Regions from separate parts of the Homo sapiens genome. Here region 2 is linked to region 1. The links are contacts of gene promoters, found by promoter capture Hi-C in blood cells and fetal thymus (Javierre and others, 2016). All regions are on one chromosome and are shown on one strand. The core of a region is centred on a gene start or on the middle of the fragment in contact, and the rest is flanking DNA. Distances in the headings are between cores, read along the strand shown. Region 1 holds the start of GNAL (G protein subunit alpha L). Region 2 overlaps CIDEA (cell death inducing DFFA like effector a).

Region 1 (5,199 bases), core at 420-2,919:
TACAATTAATATATTTACCTGTGTTTTTATGATTGAGTATATTTCTACCTCATTAGTCTATAAATTCCATGAGGACCCCTGTCTTTGCCTCACCCAGCACCAACAAGAATGCCTAGGGTACTGTAGGCACTTAATTAAATGGATGAATGGATAAATGGATAGATGGATGAGTGAATGAATAGCGAAAATGACAGTGATATTTAGTAACTTTTTCTATTTTCCCAAGTTAGATTTTCTATAGTCCTCCTTTCTTTTGCTCAAATATCTAAAAGTATGCCATAATTTTAGCAAAATTTGGGGAACAATGTTAGGTCAAAAGTAGTACATGTATGCACATTTGTTATCAGTAGGACCCCCAAAAGAAATGTGAATGCCGGATCTCCAACTTCTTGATTTAAAAATGTAATCCAGGCCCGGCGCGCTGGCTCACGCCTGTAATCCCAGCACTTTGGGAGGCAAGGTGGGTGGATCCCTCGAGGTCAGGAGTTCGAGACCAGCAGCCTGGCCAACATGGTGAAACCGTCTCTACTAAAAATTCAAAAAAAAAAAGAAAAAAAGAAAAATTAGCTGGGAGTGGTGGTGGGTGCCTGCAGTCCCAGCTACTCGGGAGGCTGAGGCAGTAGAACCACTGGAACCGGGGAGGCGGAGGTTGCAGTGAGCCGTGATTGCACCACTGCACTCTAGCCTGGGCAACAGAGCCAGACTGTTTCAAAAAGAAAAAATGTAATCCAATGTAGTATTTACATCTAGTGCCAACGGGTACAGTGCACACTGTGCTGCATGCTGTGTTTCATTAAGCAGCCTAATCTGGTGTGTTAATGAGAGATGTATTTAACTATCAGCTATAATATTCCATGTCATTTTCCAAGGAACACATCTTACAGCAGGTTTTTCACAAGCTATATTGAAATGTTCACCTGTTGCAGAAGCTCTATAAGATGCTATGCATTCAGCGGGAAATAACCGAAGACATAGCACCTCTGGCAGGCTTGTTTCTCAGCGTCATGGAGAGAGCGCACCCAGTCTGAAGGCGCATCTGCTCCTCTCTGCCCTATATTGTGGATTAAGAAAATACAGTGTATAATCTCATATTCTCATTTCAGCAAATATAAATAGTACATGGCAATTATATGTGCTCGGTTTTCATTTTTAAGGGTGGAGATTGTTGAAAATGGTGTCGTGGACCAGACTCCAGAATTGGAGATTTTGTAGAGATCAAAGGTATAGTACTATTAAAGTAGGGATAAAGAGTGTGCAGACGTGGGTGTAAGATAATGAACAGAAAAGGGAGTGGCAAGGTGCAGAGATCTCTGCAAGAAATGGATTGGGGAAATTGAAGGCTTTAAAGCCACGGTCTCTATTCCTACACCCAGCTTTCCGTCCTCGGTTACTATCGCCCAAGATCAAAGCCACCCTGGTTTTCTGATTGCCGCAACTGCGGCTCCAGGTGCTGAGTGCACAGCCACTGCGGCACTGTCCGCAGCTGCGCGCCGGGCTCAGACGGCATTATTTACGGTACAGAATACTCGCCCGCGCGACGGTATTTACGGTAACGGGGACCAGCCTGGGCGGCAGTATTTACGGTAACGAAAGCCAGCTGTATTTACGGTAGCGAGGGCTGGACCGGCGGCGGCATTTACGGTAACGGGGGCCGGGCTCGCGGAGGCCCGTCGGTTCGGTCCGCTCTGGGCGTTAGCAAGTGATCTCCAGCCAAGGCGGCCGCCACCCCTTGCACACAGCAGAAAATGCAAAATGACCCTCTGGGGCAGTGAGGGGCTGTGGCCCTCGGCCCCGGCCTGCCGCACCCCCTTCCCGCAGCTGGCGGCCGGCAGCGCCGAACAGGGTCCGGGTGCAGCCCCCTCCCGCCCCTCCGCTGAGGCGCCGGCCTGAACTGGGCGCGGGAACCAGGCCGCCCTCGGCGCCCAGCCTGCCCTAGTCCCGCGCGCCGCCCCCGCTGTGCCGCGCCCACATGGGTCTGTGCTACAGTCTGCGGCCGCTGCTTTTCGGGGGCCCAGGGGACGACCCCTGCGCGGCCTCGGAGCCGCCGGTGGAGGACGCGCAGCCCGCCCCGGCCCCGGCCCTGGCCCCAGTCCGGGCGGCCGCAAGGGACACGGCCCGGACCCTGCTCCCTCGGGGCGGCGAAGGGAGCCCGGCATGCGCTCGGCCCAAAGCAGACAAGCCGAAGGAGAAGCGGCAGCGCACCGAGCAGCTGAGTGCCGAGGAGCGCGAGGCGGCCAAGGAGCGCGAGGCGGTCAAGGAGGCGAGGAAAGTGAGCCGGGGCATCGACCGCATGCTGCGCGACCAGAAGCGCGACCTGCAGCAGACGCACCGGCTCCTGCTGCTCGGTAGGTCCCGGCCGCGAGGTCGGCTGACGCCCCGGGGACAGCGCGCCGGGCCCGCGGGGGCGGCGGGCACCGGGGAGCGGTGGCGGGCACCGGGGAGCGGCGGCGGGAGGGGCTCCTGAATCCCGGGACTGGACCCGGACGGGCGGCGGGCGCGGACGGGCTACAGAGCGTTTAAACTGTGGGTGGAATGGTTCCCCTGACCTAGCCGGGAGGACACTACGGGCTGATTCTGCCCCTCCCAGTGCCTTGAGCTTACTGCCGCTCGCTCTCTCTAATTAATGAGCCTCTCTGGGAAGTCTCCCCCTCGATTGATCACCTTCCACAGGGTCGAATCCCCGGGGATGTCTACCCTAGCCTCTCACTTCCTGCTACACGAGGAGGCTGGCAGTTTGTTTTAAGAACACAGATGAAAGGAGATTTATAAGGCCTTTTAGCTTGACCGCAAAGCTTTTATTCCAATCACAGTGTTGTGGGTGGGTGTGGCCTGCTGCCTTTTGAGAAAGAACTTGAGCTGCACTTGCATTTTTTTTTTATTATACTTTAAGTTTTAGGGTACATGTGCACAATGTGCAGGTTAGTTACATATGTATACATGTGCCATGCTGGTGTGCTGCACCCATTAACTCGTCATTTAGCATTAGGTATATCTCCTAAAGCTATCCCTCCCCCCTCCCCCCACCCCACAACAGTCCCCAGAGTGTGATGTTCCCCTTCCTGTGTCCATGTGTTCTCATTGTTCAATTCCCACCTATGAGTGAGAATATGCGGTGTTTGGTTTTTTGTTCTTCCGATAGTTTACTGAGAATGATGATTTCCAATTTCATCCATGTCCCTACAAAGGACATGAACTCATGATTTTTTATGGCTGCATAGTATTCCATGGTGTATATGTGCCACATTTTCTTAATCCAGTCTATCATTGTTGGACATTTGGGTTGGTTCCAAGTCTTTGCTAATGTGAATAGTGCTGCAATAAACGTACGTGTGCATGTGTCTTTATAGCAGCATGATTTATAGTCCTTTGGGTATATACCCAGTAATGGGATGGCTGGGTCAAATGGTATTTCTAGTTCTAGATCCCTGAGGAATCGCCACACTGACTTCCACAATGATTGAACTAGTTTACAGTCCCACCAACAGTGTAAAAGTGTTCCTATTTCTCCACATCCTCTCCAGCACCTGTTGTTTTCTGACTTTTTAATGATTGCCATTCTAACTGGTGTGAGATGGTATCTCATTGTGGTTTTGATTTGCATTTCTCTGATGGCCAGTGATGGTGAGCATTTTTTCATGTGTGTTTTGGCTGCATAAATGTCTTCTTTTGAGAAGTGTCTGTTCATGTCCTTTGCCCACTTTTTGATGGGGTTGTTTGTTTTTTTCTTGTAAATTTGTTTGAGTTCATTGTACATTCTGGATATTAGCCCTTTGTCAGATGAGTAGGTTGCGAAAATTTTCTCCCATTTTGTAGGTTGCCTGTTTACTCTGATGGTAGTTTCTTTTGCTGTGCAGAAGCTCTTTAGTTTAATTAGATCCCATTTGTCAATTTTGGCTTTTGTTGCCATTGCTTTTGGTGTTTTGGACATGAAGTCCTTGCCCATGCCTATGTCCTGAATGGTAATGCCTAGGTTTTCTTCTAGGGTTTTTATGGTTTTAGGTCTAACGTTTAAGTCTTTAATCCATCTTGAATTAATTTTTGTATAAGGTGTAAGGAAGGGATCCAGTTTCAGCTTTCTACATATGGCTAGCCAGTTTTCCCAGCATCATTTATTAAATAGGGAATCCTTTCCCCATTGCTTGTTTTTCTCAGGTTTCTCAAAGCACTTGCATTTTACTTTGGAAGCTCAACCCCAGCTCTGGGAGATTTGCTCCGCTTGAGAACCAGCTGCACGAAAGGGTGGCGGGCCGCAGTGTGCTCGCTGTGTAACTGCGTGCAGGAGGGTGGGTGCAGAATCCCAGCGTTTTCAAGGAACCAAATGCTTGCTCTCCTAGTAGTATTTTTCAGAGCTTAGCTATAGCAAATACGTGTGCTCCTACAACAATTAGAAAACATGGTTCTATGCACTCTACCGTAGAATGAAAAAAAAATCACGATTTCCTGATACTACTTGTTGCCTTTTAAATTTTAAGACAAAATAATAATAATTGGGCTTTTGATCGCAATTTTGTGAGGTGTAAGGAAGAATAGTTGTTCAGGTCTGTGCTCTCTGCTATGCATGGGAGAAGGAGCTATTCCATGACTTTAGCAAGATGCCCGCTTATAAATGAATGCAACTTTCATTTAAGATCTAGAATACAATAAATATTGAGTTTGAGAGGACTTGTCCACTGCAAGAATGAATAATTTAAAACAACATAAACCTAGCTGTTGTATCCTGTTGAAATATCTAATTTCTAAAGCAAAGGGAAATATTTTTGAAGAAACAACAACAACAACAAAAAACAGTAAACACTCAGGTTATCTCAACAGGGACGCGGGCTGAGCGGTAGCAGAGCTCTCCCCTCCAGTGCTCACCTCCAGAATATCGCAGAGCACACGTTTCCAGAGGTCTGAGGATACAGAAGTGTAACTTTAGAATTTCATACCTCGTTAAACCATTGTTGGTGTGTGAGGGTAAAATAAATCTTCGGATATGCAAGTACTCAAAGTATACCCTCATCCACATATTTTTCTGGAAGGAAACTTAAAAAAAAAATAGAGACACAGCGGTGGCTCACGCCTGTAATCCCAGCACTTTGAGAAGCTGGGGCTGGTGGATCACTTGATCTCAGGAGTTCAAGACCAGCCTGGGTAGCATAGTAAAACCCCATCTCTACAAAAAAATACGAAAATTAGCTGGGTGGTGCGCTGGAGACC
Region 2 (5,171 bases), core at 640-3,139, 570 kb after region 1:
CCCAAGCCAATTCTTGGTAAAATCCTAAGTCATTGCGTGGCAGCAACTGTAAAGTAAGGTCTAAGAGGGAGATCGTGTTTCTCTGAAGATCAAGTACCTGGAAAAGGATAGAGAACCATTTGCGGGCTTGAAGGTGCAGGCGTTCAGCGGCGCCGGGTCCCACTGTGTGTGCTACGTGTGGCGGGCAGAGAGACTACATGTGTGAAAGGGAGCGGTCCGGCTACGAAACGCAATCTATGAGCTTCCAATCCCGGGTTCTTAAATGGGAGCTGTTGTAGACACTGCAGGTTAGAAGCATCTTTCTCTTTAAAAATAAGCCCACAGTACAAGTCGGGGCGGTGGCAGGGGGACGCTGAGAAACACCTGCTTCGTGTATGGTCATTAACACGCTTAGGCCTAAAGGTCAGGGCCCTGTATCTTTTGCGTTCTTCCAGAACCATCCACACCACAGTCCCACTTCCAGGAGGGGAGGTCTTAGCAGTTTGGAATGCGTCCTTCCAACCACTTTTCCAGTGAATTCACAACACACCCACTGTTCCTCCGGAGCATGGGGGAAGGAGGTGTGGGCTGACTCGCACTAACCAATCCTGGTTGGCCTCTGAGCAGGATTCAGGCTGAGCCTGTCCCTGCCTCTGACTATTATAACAGCTCACCAAAATCCAAAATGCATCTGTGTGGGGTCTCTGTGAGGTCGTGTGAAGTGGAAGTGACTTGCTTATGAGCTGTTGACAAATGAAACATTGGGAAACCTTGAGTCTCCTAGGACACATTCCTTCCAGCTTGGCTCATCCCAGGAGTGAATGACTCTACCTGTTATGGACAAGCTGTTGCTGCAGTTCTTTGAAATCTACCTGCTTCCAGGCTGAACTACTGTCATTCTGTGAAATCTACCTGCTCCCAGGCTGAACTACTGTCATTCTGTGAAATCTACCTGCTCCCAGGCTGGACTACTGTCATTCTGTGAAATCTACCTGTTACCAAACTAAACTGGAAGAAAACAATCTGTAATTCTTGTTGAAGGGAAAACACCTTTTCTTCCCTGCCCCTCTCTAAAACCCTGTCCGGGCAAAAGAGCCAGAGGCCAGGTCCTAACATATTTGCTAATTGTGCTCTTGCTGGACTTCGGCTTCCTCTCAGGGTTCCTTAATTTAAACCAGGTCCAGGATGTCATAATTCTGTCTTTATTAGTAACTACATTTTACCAAGGAAAGAACCGAATCAATGTGCACAAAAATTTTTAAAAATCAGGTACTTGTAGTCAGTGGTGAAACCTTAACCCAGGCATTTGTTAGTCAGCTAGAATCGTTAGGGGCCTTGGTCCTGAGGAAAGCAGCCTGAGGTCTCACAACAAAGCTCCAGACATCAAGGAGGTCCACATGCAGGTTGACTATCACAGACAAAGTCTGCTCTGTTCCTGTGTTCTGCCAGTGATAACATTCCTGCCAAACGCTGAAGTTGTTATGAAGCTGGTACATGTTATAAGCTTCGTGTGAAATGGCTGCTTTCATAGCTATCTAGCACATTTTTCCTTTCCTTGAACAAGGAACTCTAGGTTTTGTGCTGCTATTTCAGTACAAATTTCACCAGTCTTCTTAGTGACATTAGTAAGGAATTAAGTATGCTACAAGTCAATCTCTCAGCTTTCTGCTTCTTGAATTTAAATTCTTATTTTAACGAAACTGCAAAGTGTTCAAAGACTTCATGGTCATGTATTGAACACTTGATAATGTCAAGCCTTTAGGTAGCTTGCGAAGAACTGAGCCATGAACCAGGCAGTCCTTGTCGGGGCGAGTTTATCTGGGGGGTAGGTGTGCTCCCACCTGCATATGTCACGTCCAAGAGCCCTAGGGGAGCCGGGCAGCAGGAAGTCTCGTCAAGGCAGCACTTGCTTCCCTGCTTCCTGCCACTGACCCCACCATCCTCTGACACTGTCTCTACAGCTCAGGGACTCTTCTCCAGGCCTGTGGAGCACTTTCCCAGCCCTCCCTTCCTTCTCTGCGTGGCTGTGCTTGACCTCACACTTCCCTCCTTGGCATTCCCTGCTGCTCTTGGTGACAGTGCTCGGTTGGCTTCTGTCCAATTCCTGTGTACTGCTTCTTCCTCCCACGGTGGCTGCCTCTTTTTCTTCCTAATGATGAGATGCAGAGTTCCCTCAGCCATCACTGCCCCCTGAATATTCCCAGGCACTATTTTACACAGCCTGTACTGCTGCCCCCTCACCCATGACACCAAAATATTTCACTTTGAGGAAGACCTTAATACTGGGCCCTTTTCCTCCATAGGTGGCATGTAAAGAAAGCTTTTTAATTCTCTGTACGGCTCAGGTTTGTTTTACTGGAGAAGAGTTCAGGTCTACTGTCAGTCTGTGGCTTGTTGGTGTATTTCACACACTTTTGGAAGTTGGCGGCGCCCTGCCTCCCTCGGGGCAGAATACAAAACCTTCCCTTCCCACCTGTTCCTGAGAGACATGCCGTTTCACAGCGTTCTATGAAGTCTGACTTTTCCTCTCTGGATTTCTGTGAAACAGCCTACTTCCTTAAACAAACTGTTTCCTTATATCTTCCCTGTTAGAGGGTTATTTCCCTTTCTGTTTCCTGTGGTTGTGTGCCCCCACTTTCACAGGAATTAGGAGCGGCAGTTCTCATGTGTGGTGTGTCTAAACGCAGGATCCTAGGGCCGCTCAGTGGCCCTGCTTTTAGGCACGGTGCTGATGGCCAGTGATAGAGATGACTCTACTCAGCGGGCTGGAGGTGACTTGGGTGGAGACGGTGGCTTGTTCATGTAGCAGCAGATTCGGTACCTGTAGGGTCCTGGAGTACATAGGCCTGGCGTGCAGAACATCTCATTCAACCCCTTTCTGTGTTACATATGAGACAGCCTTGATTTTACATAATTTGACCCAGAAATCACTCACCTCCTCCTTGACAAGAAGGTGGGGTGTAAATTTCCTTTCCTCTGTGCCCCCACCAGCCTTTCCTCCAGCAGTGACGCAGCTCTTGGTTTGGAAATGCTACAGGTGAGAACAATAGGTGTTTTTTCACTGACGATGGCAATCTTGAGGGCAGGTGAAGGCAGGGAGAACCAGAAATGGTTGCCAGCTCTTATCTTGTCAGACAGGTAAAGACCGCAGGAACCTGGAATTAATCATCTGGGCCAGGTCACCGGAGCACAGGTGCTTACGAAGGCGTGAGCATGTTCGTCCAATGAGGAGATGCAGGGCCAGGGCTGCGCCTTTGACCACTGGGGCTGGACCTAGCATTGGAAGACATGGACCATGTTCTCTCATTTCTCTGATTTTGGCCTAGCATCTTTCACTCAGTAAATAGATGGCGTGCTGACAGGCGCTGTGGGAAAGTAGGAGATGCACCGCCAGACTCCGTGAGACAGATGCTAGAGGCCTTGTGCAAGACTGTGGTGACTTCCTGCCTTGGGGGCGAAGAGGGGCTCTTTCTCGCTGCTGAGGCCGGGCCCTTCTCTCTTGTGGGAGCCGCGTCTTCTGGCCAGGTGCCGCACCGCTGGGTGGAAGCCGGAGCTGGATTCAGACCCTGGTCTAGCCTTTGCTGCCCTGACGATTCGCCTCCTGCTTTCCCCAGGCCTAGGTTTCACTGTAAGGTGGATCCCAAGGAGTGGTAAGGCAAGGCGCTAGCTCTCACACACGAGGGTTTGGCATCCAGCGGCACTTGGGCCTTTCTGTCACCCTCCTTGAGGGGACTTCAGCTAGTTTAAATTTCAGCTGCCATGATGAGGTGGAGGCGACGCCAGGGTTCTGAACGTGAAATGTAACACAGCCCGTCCTCACCGCCCTCTCCCCCCGGGTCACCAGGAGTGAGAGTGTGCCCGAATTCCCCGTGGTGTCAGCACAGCAGTGTTGTTTATGGCATTGTGTAACTGAGAACCCTGCGTCACTCTCTTAATCGAGGTGACAGTTCAGAAGCTGTGTGCCAGTCCTGGGGCCGCGTTGGTGCACAGCCCGGCCGGGCGAGGCTCTGATTGGCTAGGTGGGTCCCTGGCAAACGTGTGCGGGTCATTCTGACAGGTCCGGAGCCCCAACCCAGCACATTTCCCTCGGGCTTGCCTCATTGAAAACAAACTGTGTAGCAACTTTGTCTACCCAGAAGGGAAAGGCGTTGAGGGCATGAACTCGAAGCGCTGCTGTGCTTTCAGCCATAGAGCAGCTTTTCCGCACAGCCCTCTAGATAGATGTTTATTGCTTGAGATTTGAAGTTCAGAGGATGGATAACAAAACAACCTGCTCCCACAACCAAAAAAAGTCTTGGCTTTGGACAGACCTGGGATCAGGTTTTATCTTTTTCCCTTATTGACTGGCCCACTTGGAGAAGCCACTCTGAGCCTCAGTTTTCTCATCCGTGAAGTGGGGCAATAGTTTCCTTGCAAGGTTGTGAGGATAATTTGCTAATATTAATTAATATTGAATTAATGGGCATGGTGGTGCACACCTGTAATCCCAGCACTTAGGGAGGCCAAGGTGGGCAGATCACGAGGTCAGGAGTTGGAGACAAGCCTGAACAACATGGTGAAAACCTTTTCTTTACTAAAAATACAAAAATTAGCCAGGCATGGTAGCGGGCGCCTGTAACCCCAGCTACTCAGGAGGCTGAGGCAGGAGAATTGCTTGAACCCGAGAAGCAGAGGCTGTAGTGAGCCCAGATGGCATCACTGCACTCCAGCCTGGGCAACAGAGCGAGACTCTGTCTCCAAAAACAAACAAACAAAAATTGAACTAACATTAACAAGAGCTGAAATTGCTAATACACTGCTGGCCATGGTGCTTAGATGCCAGCAGTTATGAGGCCCTGATGTCATCCTGGCCAAGGATACTCCAGACCAAATTCTTGCCAATGACCTTGGTCTGGTTCTAGAACGACACTTTGTTGGTGAGGCACCTGGAGAAGGCACAAACACTCACGATTATGGAAAGCCTGAAACTGGGATCAAGCTGGTAGCGTGAACTCAACAAGGCGATTTTTGAGAGCCAGCTTGTTACTCTACTCTCAGGTTTTTGGTCTGTTTTTTGTTTGTTTGTTTGTTTGTTTGTTTGTTTGTTTGTTTTAGAGACAGTGTCACTCTTTTGCCCAGGCTGGAGTGCACTGTGGCCCCAATCTAGGGCTCGAGCAATCCCCTTGCCTCAGCCTCCCAAGTAGCTAGGACTA

Evidence for each region. Contacts are between HindIII fragments. The CHiCAGO score rates a contact against its expected background, and 5 or more counts as called.
Region 2: a fragment that was not itself captured here is called in contact with the fragment with the promoter of GNAL in region 1 in 2 of 17 cell types (M2 macrophages and M0 macrophages); the score reaches 7.3 in M2 macrophages.

What each region holds. Positions count from the first base shown.
Region 1 is chr18:11,687,595-11,692,793 of GRCh38, forward strand. It overlaps GNAL (G protein subunit alpha L), which reads left to right and starts at 1,670. Exons shown (of 12, transcript NM_182978.4): 1 at 1,670-2,345. The coding sequence starts at 1,970. RefSeq lists a silencer at 1,473-1,622 and an enhancer at 1,561-2,061. The HindIII fragment of the contact is 5,620 bases long and covers 1-2,790 here.
Region 2 is chr18:12,255,145-12,260,315 of GRCh38, forward strand. The region is part of intron 1 of CIDEA (cell death inducing DFFA like effector a); the gene reads left to right. LOC105371996 (a long non-coding RNA gene) reads left to right here. Exons shown (of 2, transcript XR_935158.3): 1 at 1-287; 2 at 435-2,312. Among named protein-coding and RNA genes, the nearest start is that of CIDEA, 3.4 kb to the left of the region's middle. RefSeq lists an enhancer at 3,115-3,615. The HindIII fragment of the contact is 816 bases long and covers 1,482-2,297 here.